Linked DNA regions of Homo sapiens: regions 1 and 2 are each linked to region 3. The links are contacts of gene promoters, found by promoter capture Hi-C in blood cells and fetal thymus (Javierre and others, 2016). All regions are on one chromosome and are shown on one strand. Each heading gives the region's core, a stretch centred on a gene start or on the middle of the fragment in contact. The rest is flanking DNA. Distances are from core to core; before and after follow the strand shown.

Region 1 (3,711 bases), core at 1,148-3,647, 250 kb after region 3:
GGAAAGGCAGAGCCACCACCAACTGAAGTATTCAGGTGGAGGCAGGGTGGTTGTGCTGAAGTCCCAGGTCTAGAGGCACTGCCCAGTGAGGAGTGGTGGGGGCGGGGACCTGTGTGGAAAACACTCTGACTCCTTTTCTGTAAGGCAGCTGCACTGTGCTGGGGGCACATGTTAGTTCCTAATCAGTGTGCTCCCTCCCTAGACCGAAGGCAACAGGAGCGAGGGATGAGGGATGCCAAACAACAAAAATGTTGGCCTATATGCTCCCTCCGGGAGCTCCGTCCCAGGGAAGTAGCCACTACCCGAGAGCCCAGGCTGCGAGTGCCTGGAGTCTCAGGTCTGGAGGCCCTGCTCAGTGAGGAGTATCGAGGGGTGGGAACCCACCTGGAAAATAGTCTGGCCGCTTTCCTGCAAGTCTGCTGCCCTCTTCTGGGGGTCCACGTTGTCCCTAATCACTGTGCTCCCTCCCTGGCCCAAGGGCAACAGGAATGAGGGCTGCAAAGCAGCAAAAATGGCGGCCTGCCTGCTCCCTCCAGGAGCTCCATGCCAGGGAAGTGCAGAGCTACTCCTGGCCCGACAGCCCAGGCGGGGCTGGGGTGGCTGCACTAGGTTCCTAGGCCAGTGGGCCCCACCAAGCAAGGTGCAGCACAGATGAGGCCCGCAGACCATCTGCTGCTCAGCCCCATGGGATTCGATCCCTGTCCTGGGGGCATGCAAGGCAGCCTGGCCTCCCCCATTGCTAGAGATGCAGTCACTGGTGCCAGGATGCTTGGGGATTCAAGGCTCCCAGAACTCTGCAATGGTCTGAGCAAGTGGCTCTGCCCAAACTCCACGGAGCTCTCTGTGTCAGTGCAGTGGAGGCTCTGTGCCACTCCCAGGTGGGCGGTTGTCCTCTCTTGCTCCTCTCCATTCTCTATGGGTTGAGTTGTTTCCTTTATGAATCCCAGTGTCCACCTGGATGGTCCAGTTGGAGAGAGTGATGTTCCCTTGCCACTCCTTCTCTCCATGAGAGTGGTGCTCCCATAAAGTGAGCCTTATTTTAATCTGCATTTACAATTCAAACATGACAGGTAAGTCTATTGATAATCATTTTGAAAATAAAATGTAGAACTTTTCTCCTACTGAGACAGTCTATTAAGCCACAGTTATCTCTATTTTGGAGGTTAAGTACCAACAACTTTGACTGACTGAACCAGATAATTTAGGAAAAGTATCTAACCTTATTTCAGCCCACACATTTATGGGATAAGCCATAAAGTTTCTAGATGATCTCCGGTTGTCACTCTTTCTTGGTAGGGAAAAAGAATGCAGATTCAAGAGATATTTTCCAGCATTAAGCTCACGTATCTAGTGTTTATATGTTGGGTGAAACCAGCCCTGCCATTCAGACCACAACAATGCAACCAAAAATTAGTGGATAAACCAAAAGCATACACTCATCAGCTCCACTGAGAGAGAACAACCACCTCTCAAACAGCCTGACCTGGGAAGTTTGTCCAAAGGGTGGTTCTACGTGAGACAAGGTAAGGGATCCCTATCAAGTCTTTTCTTTGGGGACTATAAATACTAATTATGAAGTGAAGTTAGGTCTCATAATGCCAGGCAGCATTATGTGGTATATTTTTCCATTTTGGAAGGTCTAGAACAAGGAGTATTATGGCTTGCTAAAAAAGATCATATTCCTTATCATGTATCCTTATCATGAATCCTCATTACTGAGAGTAACTGAGTCAAACTAATACTCTGTACTAACAGAATTAGTTGGGTTATATTCCGTCCCTCGCTTCCTGCTACCCTTTGTACTCAAGTAAACTAGAATAACATACTATTCAATTAATATAATTCTGTTTGGAATTGCTTCATGCACTAAATTTCCCCTATATTTGTGCAAGATAAGTCGGAATTTTCTCCTATTAATGTGCTAAATTTGGTGGAAAATGTAAGGTGTTTATAAGGTCACTTAGCCTCTCAGTGATGTAGCCAGCAAAATGTGAAAGACAATGTTTTTAATTGCCCAGAAATACATTCTGGCTCTGGCAACTTAATTCAGAAAAGTCCTCTAATGATTATGAAACAATAGTACACATTGCAATACATCAGCTTAAAAAGACAGTACGAAGGAAAGACAATTTACAATTTCCAGATCTTTTCTAATTCAATGTCTACAAGCTTCTAAAAGTCTCTAATAGGGTCTCTATAGGACAAACTTTTAAGTGCATTTTTTGTTTGGTTGTTTTTTTTTTCTAGTTCCCTGAGGGAAAACACTATCATCCCTTTGTCGTCATTAAAGGATATAAGGTCACTGGGTAGCATCATATTTGCAATAAAATGAAGTTATTATGTTAAATGATTTAAGCATAGTAATATAAATCTAGGTTTTATTTTTTAACAACTCAGTCATGACTGTCTTGTTTTTTAAGCTATGACCTCCTCCTTTTCTTTTTGTTCATTCTTTCTGAGTTAAAAGTAGATCCAACTAGGAAGAGTTTGTCATTGCCTGGTTACTAGTCAGCAAGATCACCAAGATACAGGCTTAAAGTTACCTAAAAGACCAACGTTCAAGTGCCTTTATGTAGATAGATTTTCAACATTGACATTGACTACGTCATACTAATCAGAAGCTTTGATAGGCAGTTATATAAACTTTGATGAATTTTTAAAGGGGCAGGAGGAAGTCATGAATGTTTACTTAAGTGAAACTTAATAGACAAAAATCTCTTTGAACATGGTATTCAGGAAGGGCAATAATTTTTTAAGGTCTTTGTAGGTAGAAAACAATAAATAAACACCGCTGACTGAAAATTACACAGATAAAGCAAATACAAGTTCTTTTAAAAAATATATTTTAAAAAAGAAAGAAGGAAACTGAGAGGAGAAAAGAAGGCCAGGGAAAGAAAAGCTGAAAAAGAGATAATAATGGAAACAAGTAAAGGATGGGGAGGAAAATTAAAATGTGGTAAGACTATAATAAAATGTGGGAAGGGTCAAGCATGTCACCTTCTCTTCCAAATTGCCTTTGTAGAGATGAGTTCTTACTTTGACGTCTTTATCTGAAACCTCTTTATAGTTGGGAAGACCTATGTTAACCAGCACAGAATCAAATGCTACTCAATTCTTTATCATTGGATTTTGAAGTCATAGTGAAAAGAGTACAACCCTGAACATGTAAAGTCTAACTGGAAACCAGCAGACGTGATAATAATCCTTACCTCAGCTGCAGAAAACAAAGGATTCTTGAGGCCATGTGCCCCTGCCTTCCCACTTTGATTTTATGGAATAGCAGAGCAATGTAACAATGCAAAAATCCTTTGGTTACTTTAGAAGAACCACAAAGATGGGTTCACATATGGATTATTGGACTTTATCATGCAGTTTGGCTTTGCCAAATTTGGATATGATATTCCTATATAGATGGATCTGTTTTGCTTGGATAATGAACTATCATTTTATCACTCCAAAGCTTTGAAAAACATTTATGTTAGCCTCTCCTCTTCACACATGATCATGATAAAGAATATAAGTGATCATGTTTAGTGCTTTATAGTCAATGTCTCGAGTTTAGCCAAATAATTGTCATTCAGTCATCCATTCATTCAGCAAATATTTATTAAATGCCTGCAATGTGCCAGCTGCCATCTTAGGAGGCAGTGATTCAGTCATCAACAAGACAGACAAGGTCTCTGACTATGAAGTGTTTGCTACACAGAAAAC
Region 2 (4,034 bases), core at 860-3,359, 130 kb before region 3:
GCATGCAGAAGAAGTGATCAAATTCTAGAATCACGGGAGGCCAATGAGATATAGAGAATATGTTAATGAGCTTGGGCATGGTGGATATGTGCCAGCCTTTGGACTTTTGCTATTTCAGATGAAGCCCTCTCTCAGATCATCAGAGGGCTAAGGATTATGTAATCTGGCAGCTGTGAGGGGGTCATCTTTGCTACCACAAAGAGAGATGGTGCCTAAGAAAAAAGCCAAGAATGGACAGAGCTAGGAGACTGTGGGAGACACCAGGAGAGAGGAAGGAGAGAGGGTGAGACAGACTGAGTCCTGATAACATAATGAGGATTTACAGTCAAATTTGTCTGAAGGAAACTTCTGTAATTTTCATGTATATCAGCCAATAAATTCTCTTTTGTCTTTAACTTCTGTGACTTGATTTCTGCCACTCCAAACTGAAAGAGACCTAACTGATACGCTGAGAACATTTTTCTACTGTTAATAACTAAACCTTTATTAACAGATATATCATTTCAATTGTAGACATGAGCAAATATACAGGGTTCAAACATTTTCCATCAAAATCAGTAGCAGGGAAGGGCAAGGCAGGACCAAAACCATATTGATGCACCATGTTTAAATTCTAGTCTTAAAGATACCCAAGAATGGGACTCTGTTGCTAAGCTTATGTGAGATGTTTCTGAATTTCGTTAAGGGAATTCTTCTTATTTTATAATTATAGTGCTGGAAAATATTTTGTTTTCCTAGTAGTATTCATGATATTAGCCTTCCAGGGATTTGTCAAAAATACTATTTTTTGAGGTTTTATTCTTTGTTGAGGTTTTGTTTTACATCATTCATAGTTTTGGGCCAACTTCAAACTCCAGTGAATTATGTCTATCAGGTTTCTTTTTATTCAAATACTTTATCTTCTTTTTTATTCCCAAGATACATGCTACTGCCTGCAGGGCTTAACAAAATTTGCTGGAGAGTTATTCTGTGATGTTTATGTATTAAATAAACAACGTTTTCCATCTGATACTTTTACCTGTTGGAACAGCTCAAGCATCACAAATTTATGGTTCCTACGTTGAATCACTCACCAGTTGTGTAATTCAGCAAAGGCAGCTTTGATCTTCTTCACGGAACTATCCACTTCTTCCTTAATCATGACGCGATATCTAGTTAGAGAAACGGTGCAGCGTTGCAAATCCTTCACTGATTTCTCAATATTTGGGCCTAAAATTGATGTCAAAAAATATTATTAACTTGAGCATTTAATCCTTTGTTTGTAAGCTAAACAACAAAACAAAGCAATTAGCCCACCAGAAAAAGGGACTCATCTTTTGTCTAGTAAAAGTTCCATCAGGAGAATGTTTGTAACCCAGTGTGGGTGGCTTGTGTGGCACCTGAGGCTGTTATGATTTCACCAGTGGGGTCTCTGACTGGGCCATCTGGGGTACGCTTGTCTCCTGCACTCTTTGGAAGGAGGCTGTCATCATTATATTCTATCACAAACTGCAGTGCCTTAGAATCTGATACGTCTAAAGACCATTTGTGCTGCTGGCTCTCTCTATAAACACCACTTTGCGTGGTTAAAAGCCAGCAGGGCTTTTGGAAGAGGAAAATGACACAGAGACTGGGAGAGGTACAAATGAGATAGAGAGAGGATGGGGCATCAATGCCAGGTACGCTGGCACTGGCCCCATCATCCGAAGCCAGGCCTGTAATTAGAGCAGCAGCATTGAAAGCAGCTCTATGGGTGCCCATCTCGCCTGATTTCCTGCAACTGTCACCAGGGTCTACAGATAGTACATCACAAACAGGCAGATTGTACTTATCACAATCAGGCCATGTTTGGTAGAAGAAAGAAATCCCCCTCAAGAAAAATGAGAAAGTAGATCAAACCAAAGCCAAGGAAATCAGATACAACTGAGGCTGAATGAAAAGAATAGTATTTAATCTTCTGGGAATCAGAAAGGAAGTGATTTTCATTTTTAATACCAGTTACGTATCAAGTATATCCAAGCTCAGAAAAATCATAAAAATCCAGCGTGTCAAATATAAAACCCTCTTTCAATGTTACATTGTGTGTAAATTCTAACACAGAACTGAATTTACATTGGGAAGACCATATCTGAAGAACATATACCAGCCTCCAGACTCATCTTTGTTCAATGCAAGTCAAGCAATTGTGTATCAGGGAAACATGAGTCCCTTTTAGCAGTTACATTTTTAAAAGAGCTCCTGAATGAGCACTTGCTTTATAAGATATTAGGATAGAAGGTACTTGTGGTGTAAGTTTATCCATGCCTACAACAAGAATGGTCTCAGAGGGGCAGAGAAAGGAGATGTAATTCTATTTAAATATTCAAGACCTTTGATTACATGGGAGGAATCACCTCTGCCTTTCCATCTATGTGGGTCACAGAAAAAAAAATGCAATTTCATGTGCATCTCTCTTCACTAAGCAGCATCTTTTGGAAAGTTCTGTCACTCTGGCACTTTTCTGTATGTGCAAAATATGTTGAATCATTTGTGCAAAAGAAATCACTTTACCTCTTTTCTTTGCCAACTCATCTGGCTTTATTTCAAGATGAGCTGCAGGGGTATTGGACTTAACAGGAGATGTTTTTGCCTTAGGCTTGCTTGGGTTACAAGGCTGCTCAGCTGACCACTGTAGGCCATCTGACCTCTCTGTTGTTCCATGTATAGGTTTGGGGTTCCCATCTAAGGATAGTTTCTGTTGCAGTAGTCTGTTGCCTTCTGTAAGAAAACACCAAATAATGACTGTGAAGTGATAAACTAAAAACACTGACGATAAAGTGATGGAGGATGCCAAGATTTTTGTTTTTGTTTACATATTGGCAATAATGCCTTTCATTGCAAACAGTCAAGAAACTGTTTTAAAAGAATCCCCAGAAGATTAGAGGGTGTACTAGAAGAGCCTTGTATTTTGAGTAGAAAGACCTGGGCATGTTTTGGCTCTGGTAATTACTTGCAGAGTGACCCTGGGCATCTCTGAGCCCTAGTTTCCTCATCCATAACTATCCAGGAAGGTTATTAAGAGGCTTATAGAAGATGAGCAGTGCCTTTTCCCCCCTGCTATTCCAGTAAAGGCTTATGAGTCTTTTAAGTACAATTTCATATTGAGGCTATAAAAATGTAGCCCTCCTATCTCCAAGTGCTACATTAATGTCTTGTGATATTTCATTCCGAATTAATGAAGGCAGAAGCGTGACTGGAGATAGAGCAAAAATGAAGTGACAACAGATACTATAATCATTGCATCTAATTTATGGAGGGCTTAAATCAGAAAACATCATCATAATATCTCAACTATATTTAAAATCTAGGGAGTCAGATTCTCTCTGGAGATTTAATAGATGTGGCAATCAATTAGCAGGATGTTGCTTTTGGCATCTTTTAAAGGTAGGTTCCCATTTAGTTATTGCTGGAATGAATTAAATAGCATGTTAGTGGCCTGAAACGGAAATGTATCACTCTTAACATCTTACTACCAGAGAAAGTTTTGGGTGTGAGAAAAGGGAAGCCAGTGTGCTCTTGAAGGCCAGGTTCTTGTAGAAAGCTTGATGAGTGCAGTTTTGATCTAGGAGAACCAAGTTCTGGTATTCCTTATGTCCTGGGTGACCTTGTGGGAATGTCTTCACTTGTCTGGCTGACTGGCTTGCACTCAAACAGAACACAGTCATCTTTGTAAAACCCAGCCTTTTCAGATAGTCACCCTTGCCCTGCTTCTCTCTACTCCCATGGTACCTTGCTTTACTTAAAACCATGGTACCACGGTTTTATATTTTAACACAAGGCTTCCATATCTGCCCCTCACCCCTGCCTTGCAGAGGCTGCAATCTTCCCAAGGGCAAACACTGAGTTCAATTCTGTTTTGAAGCCCTAGTACTTGTGTCTGGCTCGATGGCTTTCTGTAGAATTATGATCTAATTAAAGTACATTTGAAACAATTTCATAGAAAAAAATAAAAAACAATGAATATCTTACCTGACACAGTCAGAGACTACACTTGAAAAAATACAAAGGAATATGAT
Region 3 (3,535 bases), core at 834-3,333:
AGAAAATTGCCAATTAATACAGTCTTTTCCCAGATGTTCAGTTTTTACTAACGTCTTTAGCTATTCTCTGCATTCAAGTGATTGTATTTTTATGCAAATTATCTTTTGGGGCTAGTCTCTAGTTTGTGTGTCTGTGTGTGTGTGTGTGTGTATTTAAAGCCACACAGATACAGAATTTGACATGTTTTCTGCCACACAGATACAGATTTGACATGTTTTCTGTTCTGCTGCTCCATACAATAGGTTTTAACACAGCTTGAGCTTATTCCAAAACTCTAATTAGAAACTGCAGTATTTGCCTTGTCCAAATAGAAACCCATTCCCAAAGTTGATTTTTCCCCAGTTAAAATTCAACAAAGAATATCATACACAGATATTTTTAAACACGACAGTTACTAGATAAAACTGCCCTATCTAACAACACATTGCTTTCTGGTTAAGCAACACAATTTCATAAGGCCTATCAAATACTTTATCCAGACGGCCACTCTATTTTCAGGGTATTGGTTGTATTATTTGAAGTCTTTTTTTTTTTTCAGAGTGAAGAGATTTCTGACTTCCTGTCCTCTTCCCTGCTATATTACATACATCTGCTTAAACTCTGGAAAACAGTACCAGTCAAAGTGGTGCTGAAACCTTCCTTTAAGACAAACTAAAACGATGTTAAAAAGGTTACACGACCTTACTATTTCAAGTACTGGTATAAAACCACTTTCTCTGCACAGGTTCTAAAATTTCACAGTCGTTTGTCTTAAAGTCTGTCGGCTTGTGAGGGGGCTGGTACATATTTTAATATTTAAATTTCAAAAAATAAGCAATGAGACTGTGTTTGAAGTTCAAGGGTTTTCACTAGTTCTCAAGCTACAAACCCTGTAATATAGCCAAAAGAAAACGTACAGAAAGAATCTTTCACGAAAAGTGTCAGGTCTCCAAAACCCCGACATCTGCTAAAACCAGGATTGCGGGGGGGATGAGAAGCTCGTGAAGTTCAAAAACACACCAACCCCGCGGGAACACGAAACCTCCACTCGCGAAGACGCGACGCTTCCGCCGCATCCCCGCGCAGGTGAAGACTCGGCCCTTCAGCCCCGCGTGTGCGGCAGCATGATATTCAGAGTGCGCCGGCGTCCAGCGCGAGCGCATCCTACGACAACCCCGTCTCCCGCTGGGGTCCGCAGCCCGCGGACTCCGGGGTCCCCCCGCCCAAATGCGGCGGCGCGACCGCTTCGTCCCGCGGCCAGGGCGCTCCGCGTCTGCTCCGGCCACCCCAGCCCACCCGCGCAGCGCGGACGCCAACGCATCCCACTCCCGCTGGGCGCCAGGGGCGCGGGGTTCAGTGGGGCCGCGGCCCCCGCACCCGGCTGGGATCCGAGGGCGGGGTGGTCGCGGCTGACGTGGGCTTTGCGGCTCCGGGCCAGAGAGCAGCCTGGGGGACGGTGGGTCTCTTTCCGGCTTGGGAGGGAACGGGGGCGCCCGCGCGGGAGGACGGCAGGCGAGGGACGGCGGCCGCGGGCGATTCAGATCCGGGGCGGGCGGGTACACGTCGGAGCGCGGCGGCCACACGCTCGCCCGGGGAGCGCCACTGTGCGTCCCAGCCGGCGCCTCCTCCCGCTTGCCCGCGCCGGCTGGAGAAAGGAAGGACGGCGACCTTCGCGTCCGGTCCGCGCCACCAGCCCGCCTCGGCGCCGAGCGCGGGCCACACCCAGCGCTCCGGGAGGCGGCGGAGGCTGGGCGGCCCGGGCTGCGGAATGCTCGGCCCAGCCGAGTCTCCGTCCCGGCCGCGCAGGCCCCTCCGCGTCCGCCCGCGCCCTGCATCCCCAGCCGGCCCGGCGTGGAGGGGGTCCTGGGCTTACCTCTGTGTCGAGCGCCGGCTCCTCCGTCCCGGGCCGGAGCCGGGGCCCGGGGGCGCGGTCGCCAGGGGAGGCGCCGCGGCGGTGGCGGCCCCTGCGGCTCGGAGGGCGGGCCGAGCGGGAGCCGCTGCCTGGGCCGCGCGCCGTCCGGAGCTCGCCCCGCGCTGCCGGCGCTTGCAGCGGAGGGCGCAGCCAGCTCGGCCCCCGGACTGGATTCCTTCACTGACACAACTCCGGCTCGGCCGCCCCACGCAGGGACACTCCCGCCCCTCGCAGGCTGCCCCCGCCCGCCGACCCGCCCGCCTTCCCCTCGGTGTCACTCACCAGGAGCACACACCCCAGCCGGCGCCCCTCGCTCCCGCTCGCAAACACAGCGCTGCTCACGCCTCTCTCGGGTTTTGTATCCGCTCACACGCACGTTCTGACACAGATCTCGTCCCTCCACACGCCCTCCCTAGCTCCTTTCCCACCCCACTTTCTAGAAGAATCCCAGTACAGCTTCCGCACTTTGCTTGCTTGCTCCAGACCGACTTCCTCGCCTTTCCCCAAACCTCCACTTCACCGAAACTCCCCTTGTTAATGAAAGATTTTGTCACAATCCGCACGTGTTGCAAGAGAATCATCTTCTCCTACCCGAGAAAATGAACTTTGCTCCCTCAGCACTGTCTGCAAATACGAGATGTTTTTCCTTTTAGAAGGTAGTAATGCTTTCTGGAGAGGATCCAAGCTCAAAATGTAAGCAAAGATAGCCCATTCGAAAATGACCTGAAAAATCAGGCGCGGAAAAAGTGCTGGAGCTCGGGTCAGCCCTTGGAAACCCGACCAACCCGGGGTGTTCCGCCGCCTCCTCTGCGCTGCGGGTCTGCACACTGGGCTCCAAACGTGTGTGTAATAACCAAGTTACACATGGGCATCGTGGGCTTCAGCCGTGGGTTTCTGCCTGGGAGTACAGTAGTCGGGAGAGTAAAAGCAGTTTCTCAATCATTATTCATGATGGAAGCACTTTAGATAACACTCTTCTTCCAGAGGCAGTAGAGTGAAATGCAGGCAGCTCTCCAATTCAGGTTTTTATTTATTTATTTATTTATTTATTTATTTAGAAGGGTGACTTCTTAGCTTCCTTTTTTTTTTTTTTTTTTGGCAATACCAATAACTGTTTCTGAGTGGCTCCTTGGCTGTCAAGCTCCTTACAAATATCAGACCAGAGTTTGTTATGCTTCTCGAGCTCCAGACTCTAATGGGCCTCCGAGGGCACTGCAGAATCGTACATAATCCGATGTTCAGGAATTCATAATTTGAAATAAAATACAAACACCTTTCGGATAAAGTTCAAATCTGCTAACATAATGTGGCCCTGTTGACAACGCACTGCTGAAATAAAGAGAGGAGCTAAAACGAAAGGAATTCATTTTCTTATGTGACTTGGAGTGGTTCTTGCTACCTTATAGTCGCCTTGGATTGGTGTGTGGATAATATAATTTATTTAACAGACATTAGCAAGTGCTTTATAAGTACTAGCTCATTTAATCCTTGGAAGAACCCCATCAGGTAGGTACTACTTTTGTCCTGTTTTACAGATAAACTGAGGGCTGGGCCCAGTGGCTCACACCTGTAATCCCAACACTTTCGGAGACCGAGGTGGGCAAATCTCTTGAGCCCTGGAGATCAAGACCAGCCTGGGCAAC

What was found. The method cuts DNA at HindIII sites, captures the fragments that hold promoters and counts their contacts. A CHiCAGO score of 5 or more calls a contact.
Region 1: a fragment that was not itself captured here is called in contact with the fragment with the promoter of SPATS2L in region 3 in 1 of 17 cell types (erythroblasts); the score reaches 6.5 in erythroblasts.
Region 2: a contact is called between a fragment that was not itself captured here and the fragment with the promoter of SPATS2L in region 3, in 5 of 17 cell types (endothelial precursors, M1 macrophages, total CD8 T cells and 2 more). The highest score is 8.2, in endothelial precursors.

Annotation. Positions count from the first base shown.
Region 1 is chr2:200,051,707-200,055,417 of GRCh38, reverse strand. All of the region lies in intron 1 of LOC124906112 (a long non-coding RNA gene), which reads left to right. Among named protein-coding and RNA genes, the nearest start is that of MAIP1, 98 kb to the right of the region's middle. RefSeq lists an enhancer at 1-772. The HindIII fragment of the contact is 452 bases long and covers 2,172-2,623 here.
Region 2 is chr2:200,437,824-200,441,857 of GRCh38, reverse strand. It overlaps SPATS2L (spermatogenesis associated serine rich 2 like), which reads right to left. Exons shown (of 13, transcript NM_001100423.2): 7 at 2,530-2,736; 8 at 1,074-1,209. The region is part of intron 3 of LOC101927741 (a long non-coding RNA gene); the gene reads left to right. Among named protein-coding and RNA genes, the nearest start is that of KCTD18, 70 kb to the left of the region's middle. The HindIII fragment of the contact is 2,905 bases long and covers 657-3,561 here.
Region 3 is chr2:200,305,241-200,308,775 of GRCh38, reverse strand. SPATS2L (spermatogenesis associated serine rich 2 like) reads right to left here and starts at 2,083. Exons shown (of 13, transcript NM_001100423.2): 1 at 1,854-2,083. RefSeq lists silencers at 1,119-1,448, 1,469-2,198 and an enhancer at 2,609-2,708. The HindIII fragment of the contact is 4,184 bases long and covers 1-3,535 here.